Linked DNA regions of Homo sapiens: all the other regions are linked to region 1. The links are contacts of gene promoters, found by promoter capture Hi-C in blood cells and fetal thymus (Javierre and others, 2016). All regions are on one chromosome and are shown on one strand. The core of a region is centred on a gene start or on the middle of the fragment in contact, and the rest is flanking DNA. Distances in the headings are between cores, read along the strand shown. Region 1 holds the start of BCL2L11 (BCL2 like 11). Region 2 overlaps LOC107985933 (a long non-coding RNA gene). Region 3 overlaps BUB1 (BUB1 mitotic checkpoint serine/threonine kinase). Region 4 overlaps LOC105373554 (a long non-coding RNA gene). Region 5 has its middle 26 kb from the start of MIR4435-2HG. Region 6 has its middle 17 kb from the start of ACOXL. Region 7 overlaps ACOXL (acyl-CoA oxidase like).

Region 1 (2,901 bases), core at 175-2,674:
TTACAGAAGCGCTTATGAATTTAAAAACTGCTCCAGGCGGCCGGACGGCGGGACAACGCCTCCTCACTTGCTCCTCTACGGCAAGGCCCCTTCCTTCTCCCTGCCGGCTGCGGTGGTGTGTAGGGTGGTCCCTTTACAGAGTTTCCTTAATCCATCTAGCCTGACCTCACCTGCGGGATGTTCCATTTCCCGATCCACCTCCCACACCCCCGCTGCAGTTGTCTAGAAGCTGGGGCTGGGGAACTGAGGCGCGGGAGGAGCAGACAGGAGGGCCGGGGTTGGGGCGCCAGCCACGCGTTGGGAGAGCAGACCCGGGTGCAGACTCAGAGGACTGGAGAGGCGGCATGGAGTTTGGTCTCCTGGGAGGTAGAGTGAGGTGCTGCGGACTCCAGGGAGGAAAGGGATGGGTGGGGAGGCGGGAGGGGAGGAGGGACGGGGTATTTTGCGCTCCCGCACCGCGGCCCGAACTCAGCTGTTCTGCCTTCACTGGCCTCAGCCAGTCGAGGGAGCTCCTACGAGGTTATCTGCGAGCCCAGCAAATCTTGGGGGTCCTAGCCAAATGCAGTGCGCAACGTTCTCTCTCACTTGGAGGCCGCCATTCACCTCGTTTTTTTTTTTCCTAAAAGGATTTTTTTTTCTGAGTGCTTTTTTCATTTCCCTATTTTACCTGCTTTGCACATGCCTCCCGCCCTCACCCGGGAGGCGGCGAAGACGCCCACTGGGACCGCGCCTGGCCGTTTTCTGGGCGCGTCCTGCCCCCACGGCCTCTGTCTCTTAGGGCGACTGGGCGCGGAAGAAAAGCTGGAGAGCCCCTGCGGGGTGGCAGGAGGAGGGTGCCTGAGTCCCGCGAGAGGCCCGGGCGAGGAAGATGCGCAGCCTGCTGATCCGCGTCCCGCCCGGCGCCAGGGACCCTCAGAGGGAGGAGAGCTCAAAGACCTCGCCCCGCGCCTTCGCGAGGACCAACCCAGTCCCCGCGCCTGCCCCAGAGCGGCTTAGAAACTCAGGGCACAGTGAGAGCGCAGGGCGCCTCCCGAGGCTTCACACCGCCGGCCGGGCCAGCGGAGGCTGTGACCGGAGCGCCCCCTCTGTGCCGCGCACGCCGCGGCCGCCGCCGGGTTGGGGTAGGTGAGCGGGAGGCTAGGGTACACTTCGGGGTGGGGGATGGGCGCGCACATGGCCGCCAGCAGGCAGAGTTACTCCGGTAAACACGCCAGGGACGGCGGCGCGCGCGGGAGGCAACCCAGCGGGGCAACCCCCGCCTTTACCTGTCCGAGCCTGCACGCGCCGGCGGCCGCGGCGCCGAGGGGGGCGGAGCTTGCCAGCCCGCGCGCCGGGGCGGGACCTAGCGGGGGCGGGGTCCGCAGTGATTGGGCGTAGGAGCGGGGCCGCCAGCCAGAGCTGGGCTGCAGGGCCGCGCAGGTTTCACTTCGCTCCGCGCAGCCGCCTGGTCTGCAGTTTGTTGGAGCTCTGCGTCCAGCGCCGCTGCCGCTGCCGCCGCCGCCGCCGCCGCCGCCGCCGCCGCCGCCGCCGCCACTACCACCACTTGATTCTTGCAGCCACCCTGCGAACCCTGCCACACTGCGATCGCATCATCGCGGTATTCGGTTCGCTGCGTTCCCGCCGCCACCGCCTCGGCGCCCTTTCTTGGCCCTTGTTCCCCCAAATGTCTGACTCTGACTCTCGGACTGAGAAACGCAAGGTAAATACCTCCAAATCCCGGGGCGCGGGCCTGGCACCGAAGGAAGACTAGCGCTGGAGCCCGAACGGCACCACCTACTGCCCGCTTCCCGTGCACGTGCGAGCGGAGACGCTTGCATCGGCGCCGCTTGTCGCCGGCGGGAGGTGGGGATCCGTGTGGATCGGGTTCCCTCTCGGGCAGGTTCTCTTTAAAGAAAAGTCGTTCACGCGGAACCTGCAGGCTCTTGGCCGAAGTGCGGCTTGGGACGGGATGCTGCGCGCGGGCCTGGTGAAGGGTCGTAGGTCCGGGCAGGAGGAGAGGCAGCGCGTGCCTTTCGGCGCCGGCCCGGGAGCTGAGGACCTGCTCGTAGTATCGGGCTGTGCGCCCAGCTGGAAAGTCTCGCCGCCGGCTCCGGCGCCCTCAGAGTAGCGGCCGCGCAGTGTGAGGGTGTTTCGTGTCTTGGTTTTTTGGGGCGCGTGGGCCTGTTGCGGAGGATTTGCGGAACTGCGGTGGTGATTTAACTGACGAGACACGGCTTTTCCTTTTACTCATTCAGGCCAAGGTTTCGGGGCCACTGCTGCGTTCGCTTTCTCAAGCGTACCTGGGGCCCCTGCTTGCTCTGCAGGAGTCCTGCGGCCTGTGCCATCCGCACGATTCCCTGGCAGCGAGAAATCTAGGTCCTCCCCTGACCACCTGGACCGCGCAGGGGACTAGTCGCGGCCGGCAGAACCTGCTCGGTCCCTGGGCCGGGCTATCTTAGCGGCTCACGCATGCCCGAGCACACCCGACCCGGTTCGCGGTGCAGGCTGGCGGCGCCGTGCCCTCTGGGACCTGTTGCCCCAGGGTTGGCGCTGCTGGTGGAGGGCCCGACGGACGCCAGGGCGGAGGGTGTGAATTTACTCGATGGTCGCGGACGTGCGCGTCCGCGGCCAGGGGTGGCTCTTCGGCTTTGACTCGTGTCTGCGGCGCACCAGGAGAGAGAGGAAGTTGTTGGAGGAGAATAGTTGCCACAGCCAGGGCGGTGACGGCCGTTAGGGTCTGCCCCCGACGGGCCAAAACAAGGACAAGTGGCGAGGACTGGGCCTGGGGATGGCCCTGCGGGTCCGGGCGCGGCGCAAGTCCTGCTTTGTCTCCAGGTGACTGGCTGTCCAGGACGGCGGGAGCTGCTAAGGCTTGTGTCCGGAAGGAGCACAGGGATGGGCAGGGTGGCCGGGCCAGCCGGC
Region 2 (2,901 bases), core at 248-2,747, 500 kb after region 1:
CTTTCCAGAAGTGGAGCAGATGGCAGCATCATGCTTCCTGTACAGCCTGCAGAACCATGAGCGACTTAAACCTCTTTTCTTTATAAATTACCCAGTCTCAGGTATTTCTTTATAGCAATGCCAGAACAGACTAACAATTCTCAATCCTCATTTTAAAATAATCACCATCTCCTAAGGCTGGGTGAAGACATAATATGTGTTACAAGGGAGCATGGTAAATGCTGGAGACACAGGTTGATTTATAAATGCCCTGCCATGAAGCGGGATACATGGCAAGACAGGTTTCAGTATGAGCCATGCCTTGAATGACAGCAGGGAAAATCACTTTTAATGGATGCCAGGGGCTGGCAGGAGCAGAAAAGACAGACATACAGAGTCTGGGAAACAGAGAGCAAACCAGCATGGCTGGGTAGAAGAAGGGCTGTCCATGGATGATCACGAGTGCTGGGCTGTGGCATTCAAACCTTATCCTCCTGGTCAGCAGGGAACCGTGAACACAGGAAAGGGCTCACAATGCAAAGATGAAGTGAATAAAGCATGATACAGAACTGCAATGCAGAATGACTCCAGTTTTATTAAATTGTGTGTGAGATGAGAGAGGCTGGTTGTATTAGTTTGCTAGGATGGCCAAAACAAAATGCCATGAATTGGGTGGCTTAAACAACAGAAATTTATGTCTCACAGTTCTAGAGGCTCAAAGTCCCAATCAAGTGCCAGTAGGACTGGTTTCTGCCGAGGCCTCTCGCCTTGGCTTGCAGATGGCCGCCCTCTCGCTGTCTTTTCACGTGGTTGTCCCTCTATGAACAAGACCTCCTCGTGTTTCTTCTTTGTCCAAATTTCCTCTTTTTCTAAGAGCGCCCATCAGTTTGGATCAGGGTCCACCCTACCAGCTTCATTTTAACTTAAGTACCTCTTCAAAGGGCCTATCTCCAATTACAGTCAAGTCCTGGCATCACCATTCCCAGTGACTGAGGAGGCCAGAAGTAAAATGAAGATGGTATCTGCCCTCCCCCTGTACCGTGTTAAGCTCAGGGCAGAATCTGAAGGTCACCAGGTGAAGTCCATGGCTCCCTGTCCCTGGGGTTTGAGGAATGCAGCCTTGCTGGGCATCACTGGCCTGCACATCCAGATGCGGCTGCTCTTTCTCACCCCACGCTTGCCCTGGTCAGCCAGAGCCTGAGCACCCGCACTTCAGCCGACAGAGTGCTCACTGGAGCAGCATCAGAGCCCCTCTGTCCTCTTCAGAGGCTGGGTCAGAGCAACTTCACTTCGATGCATGACACCTGAGAGGCACCTGCACACAGGTGCACAGCTGGAGAGAAAAGTCAGCAGCCTGCCTTGCCAGAGGGCAGACAGACCACGCTTGGACTTCAGTTTCCAGGCGGAACAAAAGGATCTCCACATTTTTTACCTTAAAAATTAATTGACAGGTCCTGTCTGTTCCCAAGTGTCTAACATCTAAGAGGGTTGGGTTCATAGTCTGGCTGAGGATATCCTTTCCCTCCCCTCCCATTTTTACTGTAAAAACATTTTGACTAGAAAAAGAAAACCTCTTATATACTCACTATCCCAGGCAAGATTCTTCTTTTTTCTTTTTCCTCTCTGGTTGTTTTTTTTGTTTTGTTTTTTTGTTTTTTTTTTTCATTTCCTTACATTCTCTGTGCATTTGCCTATGCACCGTGGGATTTAAACAATAGATTGGGAAAACAGTGGAGAGGGCACTGAGGGTGCCCTTTTGTGGTAGAAATTGATTTTGCAGCCCTCCCCTCCCCCCCATACACACGCACATACACACACTGGGTATTTTGTTAGTCTTAACCAAAGATCAAAACAACATAGCCTTGACCTTAACTCACAAACAGCCTCCAGCTACAGGGAAAAAGTCTCTGAGCAGGGGGAGTACAAGTCCCACCAGAGCCCTTATTGATGGCAATTTAACAACAGGTATTTTATTTAAGGCCTGCATTTTTCATACAGAGACACAGTGACTCGGCTTTCAGGTATGTCTCATAAGGAAGTAGGAATGGAGAAAAGACTTGGGATTTTGAATATTTTACACAGCTTTACTGATGAACAGTAAACTGGAAGTGATCGCCATGTCTGACTGTAAAGGAATAGTTAAATAAATGTGCCACCCATGAGTAGAATGCATACCTTACGCACGTGTGCATGCACCTTCTCCAGGCAGGAAGAGTTTCCTGTGCACCCCTCACCTCCACCCATAGGAAGAGCTATGGGACCTACAGGAACTCCAGTGCTCCTGGGGCACTCCCAGCCTGTGGCACTGGAGTGTCACGTGGACAACAGAGGGTGGCTTTGTGGTCAGAACAGCATGGGCTCAAATCCAGCTTGGTCTTGCCTTGGCCTGCGTAGCCCGGGCAGCTCTTCTGCCTCCCCCAACCCAGGGAAGTGGGGTTGATGTTCTGAATCTGCAGGGCTCTTGGAGAAGTTACAGGGTGCCTGACACATGGGAGCCAGGCTCTGCCCACAGTCACCCAGCCAGCATGTTGCAGAGCCAGGATTTTAAATTAGATCCAGCCAGTTCCAGAATCATTACTTTTTCCGTTCCGTATGCATACCAGGCTGCCTCTTTCTAGATTATCCTCCAAAAAGCCCTGGGGAGGCGGCAGCAGCATGAGCGGCAGACAGGCGGCCAAGAAGTGAGGCCCCAGACAGGGATCTGAGCGTGATCTTTGCCCTTGGGACGCAAGGCATCCATCCAAGAGGTCACAGAAATCAGCAGCTTTCACCGGGAAGCCCCAAGTCCTGGGATTGGGGTGCTGAAGGGGGATCCAAAAAAAACAGTCATTGATTTGGAAGGAGATGCTGTTCTCCATCTCAGCCAGCTGTTAAAGGGACATGGATTGAACTCCCAGGCAGGGAGGGGCATTTTGTTTCCCT
Region 3 (2,901 bases), core at 214-2,713, 450 kb before region 1:
GGTAACAGGCAGCAATCTTTGAGGCTCTGAGTTTTGAAAGCCAGGCTCAGAAGCCCCCAGGTGGATCCATTCCCAGTAGGGATTTCCAGAGCCTATGCAGAGGCCAGCAGAACAGAGGAAAGGACATTGGTAAGGGAAAAGCTGGTGGGGAGAGTAAAGACAGGAGGCCGTGTGGTGAGGGCCTCTGGGTTAGACAACAAATTGTATTTGAGGTGAGCTGTGTGGGAGAATAACAGGCCCAGGAAGTTGCCACAGGAGCAGGTGGCTGACATGGAGCTCAGAGCCATGAAGAGAAAGATCAAAGAAATGAGATGTCAAAGTGGATGTAGAAGGCAGCCAGGCTGGCCATTCAATACCATTCCCAGTTTCCACACAAGCTACAAATGTCATTATTACCTGATTCTTAGAAATGCAGGCCATGTTATTTCCTGGATTTGATTTTGATGTTATCATTTGATTTAAAACCTGAACATTATGCAGAGGTTCTGAGGTTCTAGCTATGAGGGAAAAGAGGATAAAATACGGAGAAATTAAGGGTAAAACCGTAAGTAAAATTATCACATAATAAATTCCCCTGATCCTTCCAGTAGGAATCATAAGAAGTAAATCAACTCATTCACACTGTCTCAGAAATTTCAACTAAAACGTTTTTAAAATAAGTATTATACAATTTTCTGATCAACTCAACATGCCAGGAAGTACCCAAAAGAAATGTAAAACCTAACTAATAATTTTAAACAACCAGATAGGATAGGCAATGCTTATTGCTGAAATGTGATACTTAGTTCTAAGAAAAAGAAATGGCTGTATTTCTTTAAAAGTTGCATTAAACACATTTGATTCCATTCAAAATAGATGGAGTCCAGATTAAGTATTTTGGTCAATTTTGAATTAAAAAAAAATCCTACAAATACAGTGAAATTATCAATTTTTTTTTTGCAGGTTTGAGCTTTTAAAATGCTAAGACAAAGCCTCTGCTCTTTGGGGCTATTTAGTGGGCATTATGATGATCAGAATGCTTTCTCTGTTACCTGAGAGTGCAATTTGGTTTTCATTAAAAATTGGATGGGTTTTTTTTTTTTTTTTTTTTTTTTTTTGTGGAGACGGAGTCTCACTCTGTCGCCCGGGCTGGAATGAAGTGGCATGATTTCAGCTCACTGCAACCTCTGCCTCCCGGGCTCAAGCAATTCTCCTGCCTCAGCCTCCTGAGTAGCCAGGACTACAGATGCCCACCACCACACCTGGCTAATTTTTGTATTTTAGTAGAGATGGGGTTTCACCATGTTGGCCAGGCTGGTCTCGAACTCCTGACCCCAGGTGATGCACCCATCTTGGCCTCCCAAAGTGCTGGGATTACAGGTGTGAGCCACCATGCCCAGCCGGGTTTGTTTTTTAAAGAAAAGAAAATACTAGTACAAATCCAAGACTAAATGGACAACAACAGGCATTTTAGAAAGCCTGATTTTACCTTGAGCTGGCAAATGGGTTTCAGTGAGGCGTGTCTGAAATAACCTAAATGACAGCAGAAAAGGCATCAATGTAGATTATAAACTTACAGTACATAGCTGTTAGAGTGAAAACTAAATACCATAGACAACTTATTATAAGCTAGTAAAGTCTGACGTCAAGAGAGAATGTACAGTTGCATTTTAGAGTTGCTTCGAAATTAAAAAATAAAATTCTGGAAATATTTTTATATCCAATACATTATCTGTATTACAAAAATTCCTCCTTTTGCTTAGTTTATGTTAGTATTTCTCAAATTCATATAAAAATGCACCCTCTTCTCCACGTGTCAAGTCTGCAAATGTTCTAACACAGGATGTTTGACCTCCTACTTTAGGTTCTTTATACATTTGGAACATAATGAATATATTTGGAAGAAAGAAGTGAAAGTACAAAAGTACTTAGATTACTGCTTCAAAAGGCAGACATCATTGTTCATACTCTGTGAGAAGTTCTCAAATATGTCATTTCATGGCATATTTCATTTTCAACTCTACCTGTCGGGTAATGTGCAATTCCCATGCCTGACATTTCTGAGCGATGCGAGCCAAAGTGCACACTATAAAGCAACCAAGTGGTAACCCTTGTTGGCTCTTAAGTCAAACAAACCAATGGTTAAGAAGCCATTTTACGTGATGAGGAAAGACTGAAAATTACATATTAAATAATTATTGTTAGTTTTCTTAGGTATGATTATCGAATAAGGCTCTGTAAGAAATAAGATTTTAGAGATGTTTACAATAGGGTTTGGGGAAAAATATTTTGCTGTTATGGATCGGCTTTAAAATTTGTCAGCATTGAGAAACACAAAATGTTAATTATTAAAAGTTGGTGATAGATAAATGGAAGTTTATTATACTAATTTTTTCTTTTTTATGTGTGTTTGAAAAATCTCAATGACGTTTTAAAAAAGCATGAGTACTACAGAAAAACTGAAAAGATGAGTATATTAAAGGCTGGCAAGGGGTGCAGTAGATAATAGGTCTCAAATTCTACTAATGAGAGGGGAAGAGTAAACAATTGGTATAACCTTCAAGTAGGTAGTTTGGTTACATGCACCACAAGTGTAAAAACTCTTCATATACTCTTTGACTCAATAGTTTCAATTCTGAGAATCTATGAAAAGAAACTAAGTAAAAATAGGAAATATACTAAAAAATAATTTTATGATGAAGGAAAAAGACCTTGACGCAAAGCTGTATATGTACATAAAGCATGCATGCAATCCTGTAACAAGAAGAGAAAAAAGCGCCAAGGAAAATGCCAAAAGGTTTTCTTTCGTTTTCTGTATTTTCACAATTCCCTAAGTGAGATATGTTTAATCATAGAAAAAGTTTTAAAAATGTGAACAATGTTATTAAGAAATATATTCATCACAGGCCAGGCGCAGTGGCT
Region 4 (2,901 bases), core at 237-2,736, 430 kb before region 1:
TTAGCTGGGTGTGGTGTTGGGCGCCTGTAATCCCAGCTACTCAGGAAGCTGAGGCAAGAGAATCGCTTCAATCCGGGAGGCGGAAGTTGCAGTTAGCTGAGACCGCGCCACTGCACTCCAGCCTGGGTGACAGATTGAGACTCCATCTCAAAAAAAAAAAAAAAAAAAAAATCAAATCACATGTCAGGGAAGTGTTGAGCTCTGAGGAAAGAGAGCCACCTGCCACTAGGCCCTGGCCAGATTTATCTTAAAGCTGGTGGTTTGGGCATGTAGGCAGTGACAGCTGACCACATCGCTCTTGAGAGGTGACTGGCCAATCCCTTTCTTGATTCTGATAGAATGTGTTCTGTTTCCACTCCACCTGGATGTACTGCAATTCAATTCTGACACTAACTGCCCATAGTTAGCATCAGACTCTGCAGGTTTAAGAGCATAGTCCCCAGTAAGACTACTCTTACTTCAGATGCCAGCTGCAAGTTCAGGGGTTCTCAGGCCACCTGCACTTCTGACCAACTGGCCACTAAATTGGGAGTTTCCATGACCCCCTCAGGTTCACTAATTCACTAGAATGGCTCACAGAGCTCAGGAAAGCCCTAAGCTTATTATTATAATTTTATTATAAAGAATACATCTAAGATGAGGTCTGGGAGGGTCCTAGACATGGAACTTTCATGCCCCCCTCCCTGGGAAATTTGGTATGTCACTCTGCTGTCACATCAATGTGTTCGCCAACCACAAAGCTCCACTGAGCTTTGGTGTTCAGAGGTTTTATTGAGGTCTCATTACATAAACATGATTGAATAAATACTTAGCTACTTGATCGAAATCAGTCTTCAGCATATTGGAGGTCTGGAGAACAAGCCGATCTCACAGGGCTCAAAGCCTCAATCAACACTATTATCAGGTGCTTGGTCTTTCTGCTGAGCAGCTTCCATCCTGAAGCTGTCTAGGGGCCCCACCATGGTAATACAGGATTTACTAAGAAATAATTTTTAGGTAGGCAGAAAGGGTGAGGGTTCTCAGTGGAAATTTCTTTTAATAAAAGCAACTCCCAAAACGTTTCTTTCCTAATAGAAAAGCAGCTTGGAAAGCCAGGCCGGCAAGTATTGATATGCAAATGGAAGCGATTAGAAACTAGGTCCATCCAATTGGCAATTCCTCCCCTCTTCTCTTTGTCACCATGTGTGCCAGGTGTTGAAATGCCTAACCTTGTTTTCACTTTAACTCGTTACTTTGAATTTTGTCTTGCTTGTCTCTTTAATCACCTAGCCTTGCTTCTCATGTAAATAAGACTCTCTCTAGCTAGGAAGGCCGGACAAACTCCAACTGACCCCTTAATTTACAAGACACTAAGGGCTCCTCACCCAACCCCCTTTCGTAAGGAGTTGGCCTGGGTAAACAGATCCTCAGCATTTCAAAGGAGCCCAATTAACTGATAAGGTACTAACACCAACAATGTATGAAGTTCCCAGGATTTTTCTCCGAGAGATGACAACATAAAACCTTGAGTTCGTGTCCGGCATAGACCCTATATCTAATTATAATGAAAGATTTAGAACCTTGCTCCTGGTACCCTTGCTCTTCTTGTAACCATTTGTCTTTTAAGTTGTTTATCACTCTGTAACCATTTTGTTTCTTTTGATTCTTGCATGTTTTTACTTCTGTAAAATTATTACATTTGAGTCCCCCTCCCCTTCCTAAACCTAGGTATAAAAGTTAATCGAGCCCCTTCCTCGTGGCCGAGAGAATTTTGAGCATTAGCTGTCTCTTTGGCCGCCGGCTTAATAGAGGACTCTTAATTCGTCTCAAAGTGTGGCGTTTTCTTAACTCGCTAGTGGGTACAACAGTGTCATGGCCACCTACAGATAACACCACCTGTGCAGGACATCATGGCGACCTGCATTTGCATGTTAAAAGGCTAGGGTAGGAGGACCAGGCTTTTTGTGGGCTACATAAATGATACACCTGGTCAAACCAATCCCCTGGGCCCTAGGCAAATAAGACACCACCTCCTCCAGCCTCCCAATATAACTGATGACTTTTCTGCCACACAGGGGTTTTTCTCTCTGTTAGGAGCCCCTCTCCCTCTGTCTCTCTATGGGGGAGTGTGTTCCTTCTTTCTTGCCTATTAAACTTCCCGCTCCTTAAAACCACCCCACTTGTATCCATGTCGTTTATCTAATCAGCGGGAGACAAAGGATCATGGTGTTTCTCCAGTCATCAGATGGGGTCACCTCATTAGCATAACAAAGGCACTCCTATGACTCAGGAAATTCCAAGGGTTTTTGAAGCTCTGAACCAGGAACCCAGGAAAATGACCAGCAGTTTTTTTTTTTTTTTATTATACCACAGAGGTGATCTGCATGTTTGAACATAAGCTTACAATTTCATGAGCTTTAACAGCATCTCTACTTTTATAAAATCATATTCTCAGGACAGCAACCTTGTCCTCTTACCAAGTTGGAAAGTAATCATCATTCTTGCTCAGCTTGTATTGGCTTCTGGCCCTTCAAAGAGCTGGACACTTACTAATCTGGAAAAAGAGAGGTGAGCAAGTCTCAGACCTGTTTACTTAAAAACATCCAATCTCAGGGATAGTCCTGATGGAAGTTTATTTTATTATTATTTTTTGAGACGAAGTCTTGCTCTGTGGCCCAGGCTGGAGTGCAGTAGCTTGATCATGGTTCATTGCAGCCTCGACCTCTGAGGCTCAGGTGATCCTCCTACCTCAGCTTCCCAAGTAGCTTGGACCACAAGCAGGTACCACCATACCCCACTAATTTTTAAATTATTTGTAGAGATGGGGTCTCCCTGTGTTGGCCAGGCTGGTCTTGAACTCCTGGGCTTGAGCAATCCCCTCACCTTGGCTTCTCAAAGTGCTGGAATTATAGGCATGAGCCA
Region 5 (2,901 bases), core at 222-2,721, 400 kb after region 1:
GTTTAAGAACTCAAAGTCTCTCTCACTTGGGGAATATAAATTAGTGTTTCTATAGCTAAAAGCCACCTTGAGAATATGAGGATAAGAGCTAATCCATTAGTCTTATGTCAGCAGCTGTACTAGAAGGAGAAAGTACATCAAATGTGACACAGCTTATAGTGAGGGCATCGATTCTGTATGGTCCTGAGCTAATCACTCCCCTTATCTGGCCCTCTCTCACAGGCAAATGCATCCAGCAGGACCACAGTTAGTTATTGCTCACCTAAAACATGTGGGCTACCATAGGGGCGGGGAGGAGGGGAGGTGGATCGCAGAGGACCCGCTGCAATTTCAAAGGCATGTGGGATCTGACAGGCAATGCTGCCATGTGCAATAGATCATGGACAGAGGGGCAGTCCTTTCTGCCCAGACCTCTGTCCTTAGCAAGACTACAGTGCACAGGCCCAGAGGCAGATCCTGCAGGAGAGGCAGAATTCTGTCCATGACATCTTAACATCTCTCAACGTTTGGGGCTTATTTGACAAGAAGAATCTGGGAAGGACACAATTATCCTTCCACTAAATTATCTGTGATTCCACTAAAATTATCTGTGATGATAAAAGAGGCCCTAGCCATTTGTATGTGGAGGAGAGGGTCTGATGGGAAGCCCATGGAGGGTCATTAAAGCCTAGATGAGATGGGGTGAAGAGGAGAATCAGAAATGGAAACCCAGGGCGTGCAGATTTGAAGGGTCCCAGAGCTGGGTGATGTGTACCTTTGATCTAAGGACCGTGGTCTGACGGACCAATCACTTGGTAAGTAGGGGCATTCATGTTACAATCAAATAAACACGGCTGTGCTAACTCAAATCCTGAGCCTTAGCCCCAAATCCCTCTAGTGGGTCCTTGCAATGGAAAGCTCAACTTGTTTGCTGTTTAGGTGGGCCAGTATTTCAACACAGGAGGTTAGAATTAATCTGAGAAATGAGGGAGTCTGTCAAACCCATACAGAGCCACATTAACCCTGGTGAGCCATTGGTGTGTATTTCACTTTTAAAAGGTTTGTAATATTTTGCAAATGTTGGCAAATCCATTGGATTAGCCTGGTGACTCCAATTTAAAGTGTATAATTGGGTATTCAACTTTAGAATCTGGATATTGGTCAAAAGGTATAAAATGACTTGTGTAAGCTTTTACATAGGATGAACATGCATTCTATGTTTCATTTATCAGATTTCAAAGAATGCTTTAAGTTCTTGGAGAGATCTTGTTTGTTACAAGCTTTGGGAGAACTTAAGACCGTCAAATACATTAGATGCATACACGCAGTTTAAAATATTTATGGGGTGTAATTAATAAGTTGTAAAATTAAATTAGTAGGTAGAATAATGAAATTTATAATTTGAACTCTAAAACTTAAAGAAGCTAGGTTTTTGAATGTTTAAAAAATTCTAACATTTATTTTTCAACCCTAATACATTTGACCTGTTTTCTGTGCACTTACTGCTCTCTGGGATTCTACCCTGACTCCCACTGACAACACCCAATAGAGGATTGATTTTGTAAATAAGATGAGAGAAAAGGCTTGGACAAAATTAAAGAGTAGGGAGTCAACAATGCATTCTAGGCAAGAGTAGTCCAAAAGTAAAGTAGATGAGTCCAGAAAGCAGAATGGGAACCGGAGAGCAGGATTCTGTAGGGAATGTGAAGCTTCCATTGGCTAATGTTTAGCTTGATTGGATTGAACCGGAATGATTTCAGCTGGGGAGGAGAGGGAGCTAAAGGAGGAACAACAAGGTGGGATTAGACCGCAAGACCCTGACCGTGGGGCTAGAAATTTATTTCTGATTCATGACATTTAGAGCTAGTGTCCTATAACAAGTGTCTCCCCTGGTGAGAAGCAGGCCATCTCTGAAGGCTGCCAAGGAAAGGAGAGTGGTAAGAAAATGCATCCGCCCTTAATATGGAAAATGGACTGGCCGGAGGCCAGGATGCCGGAGGCAAGAGTAAGGGGCTGGCAAGGGAGCAGAAAGGAGGTCATCAGAGACAGGAAAAGCAAAGCAAAGATGACTCCGAGTTTGCCACCCAGGCACCCGAGTAATCAGATGGATGAAACAGGCACGGGGAGGCAGGAGGAGACACCCTGTGGGGAAAGAGGAGATCAGTGTCTGGCGCGTGTACTTTCAGGGCCTACGAGACCCTGGAGGGAAGCTGGCCCATAGGTAAGAGCACAAGAAGGGGTGTACAGAGCAGGTAAGCTGGGGTTACAGATCCAGGTCTGGGATTTGGAACAGAAAAATGTGTGCAAAGTGATCAGAGCAGGGAGGAGCAGGCTGGGGAAGAATCTTTCCAAAGGAGGTGAAGAAGGAAGGCACGGACTCCAGGAAAATCACCTCCCACCCACCACTTACTAAACACACAGGAGAGGTCCCCATTCTCTGTATCTCCAGCCCACACAGCAACTCTGCAAAGTGGATGATTTTGCCCCATTTTACAGATGAGGCAACTGAGCCCTAAGAAGCTACAATTTTCACCCAAGTTCAAATGCTATCAGGTGGCAGAGAAGGGTGAACACCCAGGTCTGTGGGACTCTCCACTGGTTCCTCCTTCTAGGGCCCCGTGTCTCCAGGCCAAAGGCCAAGTACTTTCCAGCCTTTAAATGCGACATTTGCACTCACAACAGATGAGATGGGAGATGGGTTTTGGTTACTGGATTCCTTTTAATTTCATAAGAACTTGGTACATCTGTGTTTCAGGAAAAAAAACAAACTATTTTCAGGTTCCAGTAAAGCTATGAAATCCAGGGAAGTGTAAACAGTGCAAAGCTGGCTTAAGCCCTGGGTCAGTTCTACAAAGGCTCCTCTGGAACCCAGAGATGCCAGAGAAACCAGAACCAGACCCAGTTTAACACAGACGATGAGTA
Region 6 (2,901 bases), core at 103-2,602, 410 kb before region 1:
AGATGGTGTGATCTTCAGAGGCTGGCTGTAATGCTTCTTACATTTCCTGACTACTGTTTTATAGCATCACACAGGTATTGTGGGGAGCTGCTGCCACGGACAACTTCAGACTTACTGAAGTAGCTTTTTCTTTTAAGCTGCACATGAGTGCAGTCCCTGGAGTTTTTGCCCACAATATCTTTCTCAAAACAGGGGTCCATGTGTGAGTAGACCTTCTACAGATGCGAATGAAACCAGTGTCATTGTTGCTGGTGTCATTATGTCTATAGATTCAGGATGTTAGAGGGTGGCTCTGTGGTCTTTTCTGTTCGAGGTAAAACATAAACAGCAGGTCCTGGAGGGTCCAGTTGGGACTTGTCTTATGAATGGTGTGAATCATATTGGAATTTGGAAGCCTAATGGCCACCCAAGCCCATGGGCTGGGCAGTCGCTTCCCATGCATGCTCTAATATTCAGATGTGCCTGCAGATTCTTCAGTGTCTTCATGGCTCATGGCACTTGAGCACCCTTGTCTAAGGGATTCCAGACTTTCCTAGGTGGAAGGAATAAAATCTACCCCATATAATCAGTTCCATAGAATGCTGAGGGGTAAATATACTAAGATGGAAGCAGAGAGAGCCATATAGGAATATAGGATCCCCACATTACATCCAAGATCAGTGAGTATTTTAAACCTAGTTGTGATATATTCTCTTCATCCCTTTTTTTTCCTTGTGTAGAGCCTAGGAAGATTGTCTTCCTAATGCCTTTTTGTGTCTTTAATTAGGATTTATGCAGCCTAATATCCTGAAATCCCTTTCACTTTGTTCTGTTGTGATTTAGGGTGTAGTTCTTTCTGAAGTATTTTAACTTGTTTGTTTTGAAGTTTTTATGTACTCTTGTTTGCTTTACTGCTCCTTACTGTAAGGATGCCAAGATAAGAAAGAAGTTGAATTGTGGAGAAATACTGAGATTTTGCAAGCTTTAAAAAGAGTTCACACCCTTATTGAGCTGAAACACTGCACCACTTACTCCTGTACCATCACTGATGTTAAATCAAGTTTAGCCTAAATCTGCCTCCTTACATATTTTAAGTTTGGCCTAAAGGTTTCTCTGTACAGTGTGAACTATAACCTAAATGTAGTTGTAAACAGACTGTAGCCTCCTCTTGTGCCAACCACCAAGTCTTGGCCAATCAAAGGTGGCCAGCTGTTCAAACCGTGTTCAAATAAAGCACAAGCCAAGCCGTAACCAATCTGGCTGTTTCTGTACCTCACTTCCATTTTCTGTACTGTCACTTTCCTTTTTCTGTCCATAAATCTTCTTCCGCCACGTGGCTGCACTGGAGTCTCTGAGCCTACTCTGGCTCAGGAGGCTGCCGGATTTGCGAATCCTTCTTTGCTCAGTTAAACTTTGTTAAACTTAATTTGGCTAAAGTTTTTCTTTTAATGTTGGCCATCATGAAACCAATAAAATCTGCTGAGAACCTAACAACTAGATTTCTTTTTGCCTTTTTCTGTTTTGTTTGTCTTTCTTTTTTGATCTATTTTGTCTTTTCTCCGTTTTCTGGTTCTTCTTTCCCTCCTGGCTTATATTTCTAGCATCATAAGGGGAAATATTTCTTTTTCTGGTAAGATATTAGAAATTTGGCCTGTTTAGTCTATCTCATGGTTTTCTGTGTTCTAAAATATCTTTCAGTTTTCAGTCACAATTTGAAAGCATCGTTAGCCCTGGTTATACAGATGTGCCTAGGATGTGACTCAGGTAAGCTTTTCTGTATTTGCTCTATTTCACTTCTGAAGCATCTCATTGGTAATGTCCAGCCAGATCTAAAAACCTCTCTCGCTGGGCGGTCCTTCCTGAAGACCCCTTTGGTTTTCAGAATTAGTGGTGTTAGCCTACCCAACAGTCATATGCCAATTCTCCTATTCAAAAGATGCCCCTTGCTAATGAATTTATTATCTCTTGGCAAAGTCTGATGAATTAATTTCATAACCATCTCTCTCCAGAAGCTGTCTGGTGAAATCTCCTATAATGTATGGTCCTTGGTAACTCCTAAGCCCCTTCTGCCCCTCAAAGAGCCACAACCTGGCTTATGAACAAATGGCCGCAGCTCTCCTGCTAACCACCATGGATTTCAGTGGGTCTATCTGGTCTCCATTCCTGGTCTTCCTGAGAAGTAAGGTCAGGAGCAGCAGGGGCAGTTGGACTTAGGTCTAGGGCTCTGTTTCTGGTCATCGGGGGAGTGCTGCAAGACCCACCAGCTCAAGGTGCTAACCTGAGCCTATCACCTCTGGATGAAATGGGGTAATGTGGATGGGTGATGTTGGACAACTGGAAGGAGGACTCAGGTAGCCCCAGCCAAAACAAAAGAGCTGAAGAATAAAAATATGCTGTCTGGCTGACATTAATGGCCAATATTTAAAAAACTTACATATCCCCTTGCCAGTTTATAGCTCTTAGATTTTTAAATATTTATTTTTTTACATACAAAAATACTTGGGGTTGTTTATATTAACAATTTGAAAAAGATCCTATATACAATGTATAAACAGACAAGAAGGAAACCTACTAAAATGTTAGCGATTAAAATCTCTAGGTGGTGAGAGTATAAGCGAGTTTATTCTTTACAGTTTTCTTAGGTTTCCAAATATTCTCCCATATGAATGTGATATTTTTAGACTCAGAAATGAATATACAAGTATACAAATTTCCATTTTCATTGTGACTATGGTGAGTTTTTTTGTGTGTCCTTATCCTACATTCCTTGAAATTTTCTCTAAAGAGATTTGTGTTCTTATTGAAACAGTAAATTTTATAAAAATAACTTTGTTTATGGTGTGTTTCATTGTACAGATATTTTTCCATACTGTTCTATATGCTTACATTTTATACATACATACACATGTGGGTACTTTTAGT
Region 7 (2,901 bases), core at 280-2,779, 360 kb before region 1:
TTCAAGTGATTCTCCTGTCTCAGCCTCCCGAGTAGCTGGGATTACAGGTGCCCGACACCACGCTCGGCTAATTTTTTTCTATTTTTAGTAGAGACGGGGTTTCGTCATGTTGGCCAGGCTAGTCTCAAACTCCTGACCTCAGTTGATCCGCCCACATTGGCCTCCCAAAGTGTTGGGATTACAGGTATGAGCCACCGCACCGTGTCAAGGTCTGTTTATTTTATAGGTTTTGATCATTTCTTCAGTTCCTTTGGGCGATGTGTGTATTATCTGTGCATTAGTGGCCCTCATCTACTGATTTCTTGGATTAAAATTATGAAATAATTCTTCAGGTTTTATTTTAATACTTTGTGGTTTTATTTTTCTTCATGTCAATTGTTGATCTATTTGGAATTTATTCTAGTACGTGGTGTGAAATGGGGATCTGACTTAATTTTCCTTTCCAGTTGGCCACCCAGCTGGATGTTTCAGTAATGTTTGTTTTTCCCATGATTTGATATACCACATTTGTCTTACATATATTAAATTTCCATATATACTTACTTCTGTTTCTCAATATTCTATTTTATTCTATTGGTCTATCTGCCTGTTTTGCACAATTTGAGTTACTTAAGGCCTTATCACACATCTTTTTAAAAAAAATTTTACGGGAGATTTGCCCCTTTTATTTTTTCTTCAGCTTTTTTTAAATTCAGGGGTACATGTGCAGGATGTGCACATTTGTTACATAGGTAAACGTGGGCCGTGGTGGTTTGCTGTACAGATCATCTCATCATCTAGGTATTCAGCCCAGCATCCATTAGCTATTCTACCTGATGCTCTCCCTCCTCCAACCCCCCCCAAGACAGGCTCCAGTGCATGTTGTTCTCACCATGTATCCATATGTTCTCATCATTCAGCTCCCACTTATAAGTGAGAACATGTGCTGTTTTGGTTTTCCATTCCTGCATTAGATTGCTGAGGATAATGGCTTCCAACTTGTCCATGTTCCTGCAAATGTCCTAATCGCATTCCTTTGTATGTCTGCATAGTATTCCATGGTATATATGTACCACATTTTCTTTATTCAGTCTATCATTGATGGGTATTTAGGTTGATTCCATGTCTTTGCTAATGTAAATAGTGCTGCAGTGAACATATGCATGCATGTATCTTTATAATAGAATGATTTATATTCCTTTGGGTATATACCCAGTATTGGGATTGTGGGGTCAATTGGTATTTCTGCATCTAGGTCTTTGAGGAATCACCACACTGTCTTCCATGGTGGTTGAACTAATTTACACTTTTACCAACAGTGTAAAAGTGTTCCTCGTTCTCCGCAACCTCGCCGGCATCTGTTGTTTTTTCACTTTTTAATAATCAACATTCTGACTGATGTGAGCTGGTATCTCATGGTTTTGACGTGCATTTCTCTAATGATCAGTGATGTTGAGCCTTTTTTCATATGTTTGTTAGCCACATGTATGTCTTCTTTTGAGAAGTGTCTGTTCAGGTCCTTTGCCTACCTTTTAATGGGGTTTTTTTTTTTCTTGTCAATTTGTTTAAGTTCCTCATAGACTCTGGATATTAGACTTTCGTCAGATAGATCGATTGCAAGAATTTTCTCCCATTCTGTAGGTTGTTCACTCTGATGATAGTTTCTTTTGCTGTCCAGGAGCTCTTTGGTCTAATTAGATCCGATTCGTCAATTTTTGCTTTTGTTGCAGTCATTTTTGGTGTCTTCATTATAAAATCTTTGCCCATGCCTATGTCCTGAATGATATTCCCTAGATTTTCTTCTAGGGTTTTTATAATTTTGGGTTTTACATTTAAGTCTTTAATCCAACTTGAGTTAATTTTTATATATGGTGTAAGGAAGGGGTCTAGTTTTAATTTTCTGCCTATAACTTGCCAGCTCTCCCAGCACCATTTATTAAATAGGGAGTCCTTTTCCCATTCCTTGTTTTTGTCAGGTTTGTCAAAGATTAGATGCTTGTAGGTGTGCAGTTTTATTTCTGAGTTCTTTGTTCTGTTCCATTGGTCTATGTGTCTGTTCTTGTACCAGTATCATGCTGTTTTAGTTACTATAGCCTTGTAGTATAGTTTGAAGTCAAATAGTGTGATGCTTCCAGCTTTGTTCTTTTTCCTTAGGATTGTCTTGGTTATCTGGGCTCCTTTTTGGTTCCATATGAATTTTAAAATGATTTTTTCTAATTCTGTGAAGAATGTCAATGGGAGTTTAATGTGAATAGCATTGAATCTATACATTATTTGGGGCAGTATGGCCATTCTCTGATGGCTGTATTTTTGTGGGGTCAGTAGTGATATCCCCTTTATCATTTCTGGTTGAGTTTATTTGATTCTTCTAACTTTTCTTCCTTATTAGTCTAGCTAGTGGTCTATTTAATTTGTTCAAAAAACCAGCTCCTGGGTTCATTGATTTTTTGAAGTGTTTTTCTTGTCTATCTCCTTCAGTTCAGCTCTGATCTTGGTTATTTCTTGTCTTCTGCTAGCTTTGGGAGTTTATTGCTCTTGGTTCTCTTGTTCTTTTAGTTGAGATGTTAGGTTGTTAACTTGAGATCTTTCTAGCTTTTTGACGTGGACATGTAGTGCTATAAAGTTCCCTCTTAACACTGCTTTACCTGCGTCACAGAGATTCTGGTACATCATTTCTTTGTTCTCATTAGTTTCAAAGAACTTCTTGATTTCTGCCTTAATTTCATTATTTACCCAAGACTCATTCAGGAGCAGGTTGTTCCGTTTCCTGTAGTTGTGTGGGTTTAAGTGAATTTCTTAATCTTGAGTTCTAATTTGATTGCTCTGCAGTCTGAGAGATTGTTTGTTATGATTTCAGTTCCTTTGCATTTGCTGAGGAGTATTTTACTTCCAATTGTGTGATCAGTTTTAGAGTAAGTGCCA

Evidence for each region. Contacts are between HindIII fragments. The CHiCAGO score rates a contact against its expected background, and 5 or more counts as called.
Region 2: a fragment that was not itself captured here is called in contact with the fragment with the promoter of BCL2L11 in region 1 in 8 of 17 cell types (neutrophils, M2 macrophages, erythroblasts and 5 more); the score reaches 14.6 in neutrophils.
Region 3: a contact is called between a fragment that was not itself captured here and the fragment with the promoter of BCL2L11 in region 1, in 4 of 17 cell types (neutrophils, total CD8 T cells, naive CD8 T cells and 1 more). The highest score is 8.7, in neutrophils.
Region 4: a contact is called between a fragment that was not itself captured here and the fragment with the promoter of BCL2L11 in region 1, in 1 of 17 cell types (neutrophils). The highest score is 5.9, in neutrophils.
Region 5: a fragment that was not itself captured here is called in contact with the fragment with the promoter of BCL2L11 in region 1 in 5 of 17 cell types (erythroblasts, neutrophils, total B cells and 2 more); the score reaches 9.1 in erythroblasts.
Region 6: a fragment that was not itself captured here is called in contact with the fragment with the promoter of BCL2L11 in region 1 in 1 of 17 cell types (neutrophils); the score reaches 7.2 in neutrophils.
Region 7: a fragment that was not itself captured here is called in contact with the fragment with the promoter of BCL2L11 in region 1 in 1 of 17 cell types (fetal thymus); the score reaches 5.1 in fetal thymus.

The regions. Positions count from the first base shown.
Region 1 is chr2:111,119,490-111,122,390 of GRCh38, forward strand. BCL2L11 (BCL2 like 11) reads left to right here and starts at 1,425. Exons shown (of 4, transcript NM_138621.5): 1 at 1,425-1,699. RefSeq lists enhancers at 630-709, 1,860-1,979 and silencers at 990-1,529, 1,863-2,157. The HindIII fragment of the contact is 10,886 bases long and covers 1-2,901 here.
Region 2 is chr2:111,615,714-111,618,614 of GRCh38, forward strand. LOC107985933 (a long non-coding RNA gene) reads right to left here. Exons shown (of 3, transcript XR_001739641.2): 1 at 2,155-2,901. Among named protein-coding and RNA genes, the nearest start is that of MIR4435-2HG, 120 kb to the left of the region's middle. RefSeq lists enhancers at 669-1,170, 1,894-2,566. The HindIII fragment of the contact is 3,790 bases long and covers 1-2,901 here.
Region 3 is chr2:110,669,057-110,671,957 of GRCh38, forward strand. It overlaps BUB1 (BUB1 mitotic checkpoint serine/threonine kinase), which reads right to left. Exons shown (of 25, transcript NM_004336.5): 5 at 1,469-1,512; 6 at 397-497. Among named protein-coding and RNA genes, the nearest start is that of BUB1, 7.6 kb to the right of the region's middle. The HindIII fragment of the contact is 5,248 bases long and covers 1-2,901 here.
Region 4 is chr2:110,686,770-110,689,670 of GRCh38, forward strand. The region is part of intron 1 of LOC105373554 (a long non-coding RNA gene); the gene reads left to right. Among named protein-coding and RNA genes, the nearest start is that of BUB1, 10 kb to the left of the region's middle. RefSeq lists enhancers at 713-1,684, 1,685-2,656. The HindIII fragment of the contact is 1,780 bases long and covers 597-2,376 here.
Region 5 is chr2:111,519,795-111,522,695 of GRCh38, forward strand. No RefSeq gene overlaps it. Among named protein-coding and RNA genes, the nearest start is that of MIR4435-2HG, 26 kb to the left of the region's middle. The HindIII fragment of the contact is 429 bases long and covers 1,258-1,686 here.
Region 6 is chr2:110,713,793-110,716,693 of GRCh38, forward strand. No RefSeq gene overlaps it. Among named protein-coding and RNA genes, the nearest start is that of ACOXL, 17 kb to the right of the region's middle. The HindIII fragment of the contact is 787 bases long and covers 960-1,746 here.
Region 7 is chr2:110,756,223-110,759,123 of GRCh38, forward strand. The region is part of intron 1 of ACOXL (acyl-CoA oxidase like); the gene reads left to right. Among named protein-coding and RNA genes, the nearest start is that of ACOXL, 25 kb to the left of the region's middle. The HindIII fragment of the contact is 4,274 bases long and covers 1-2,901 here.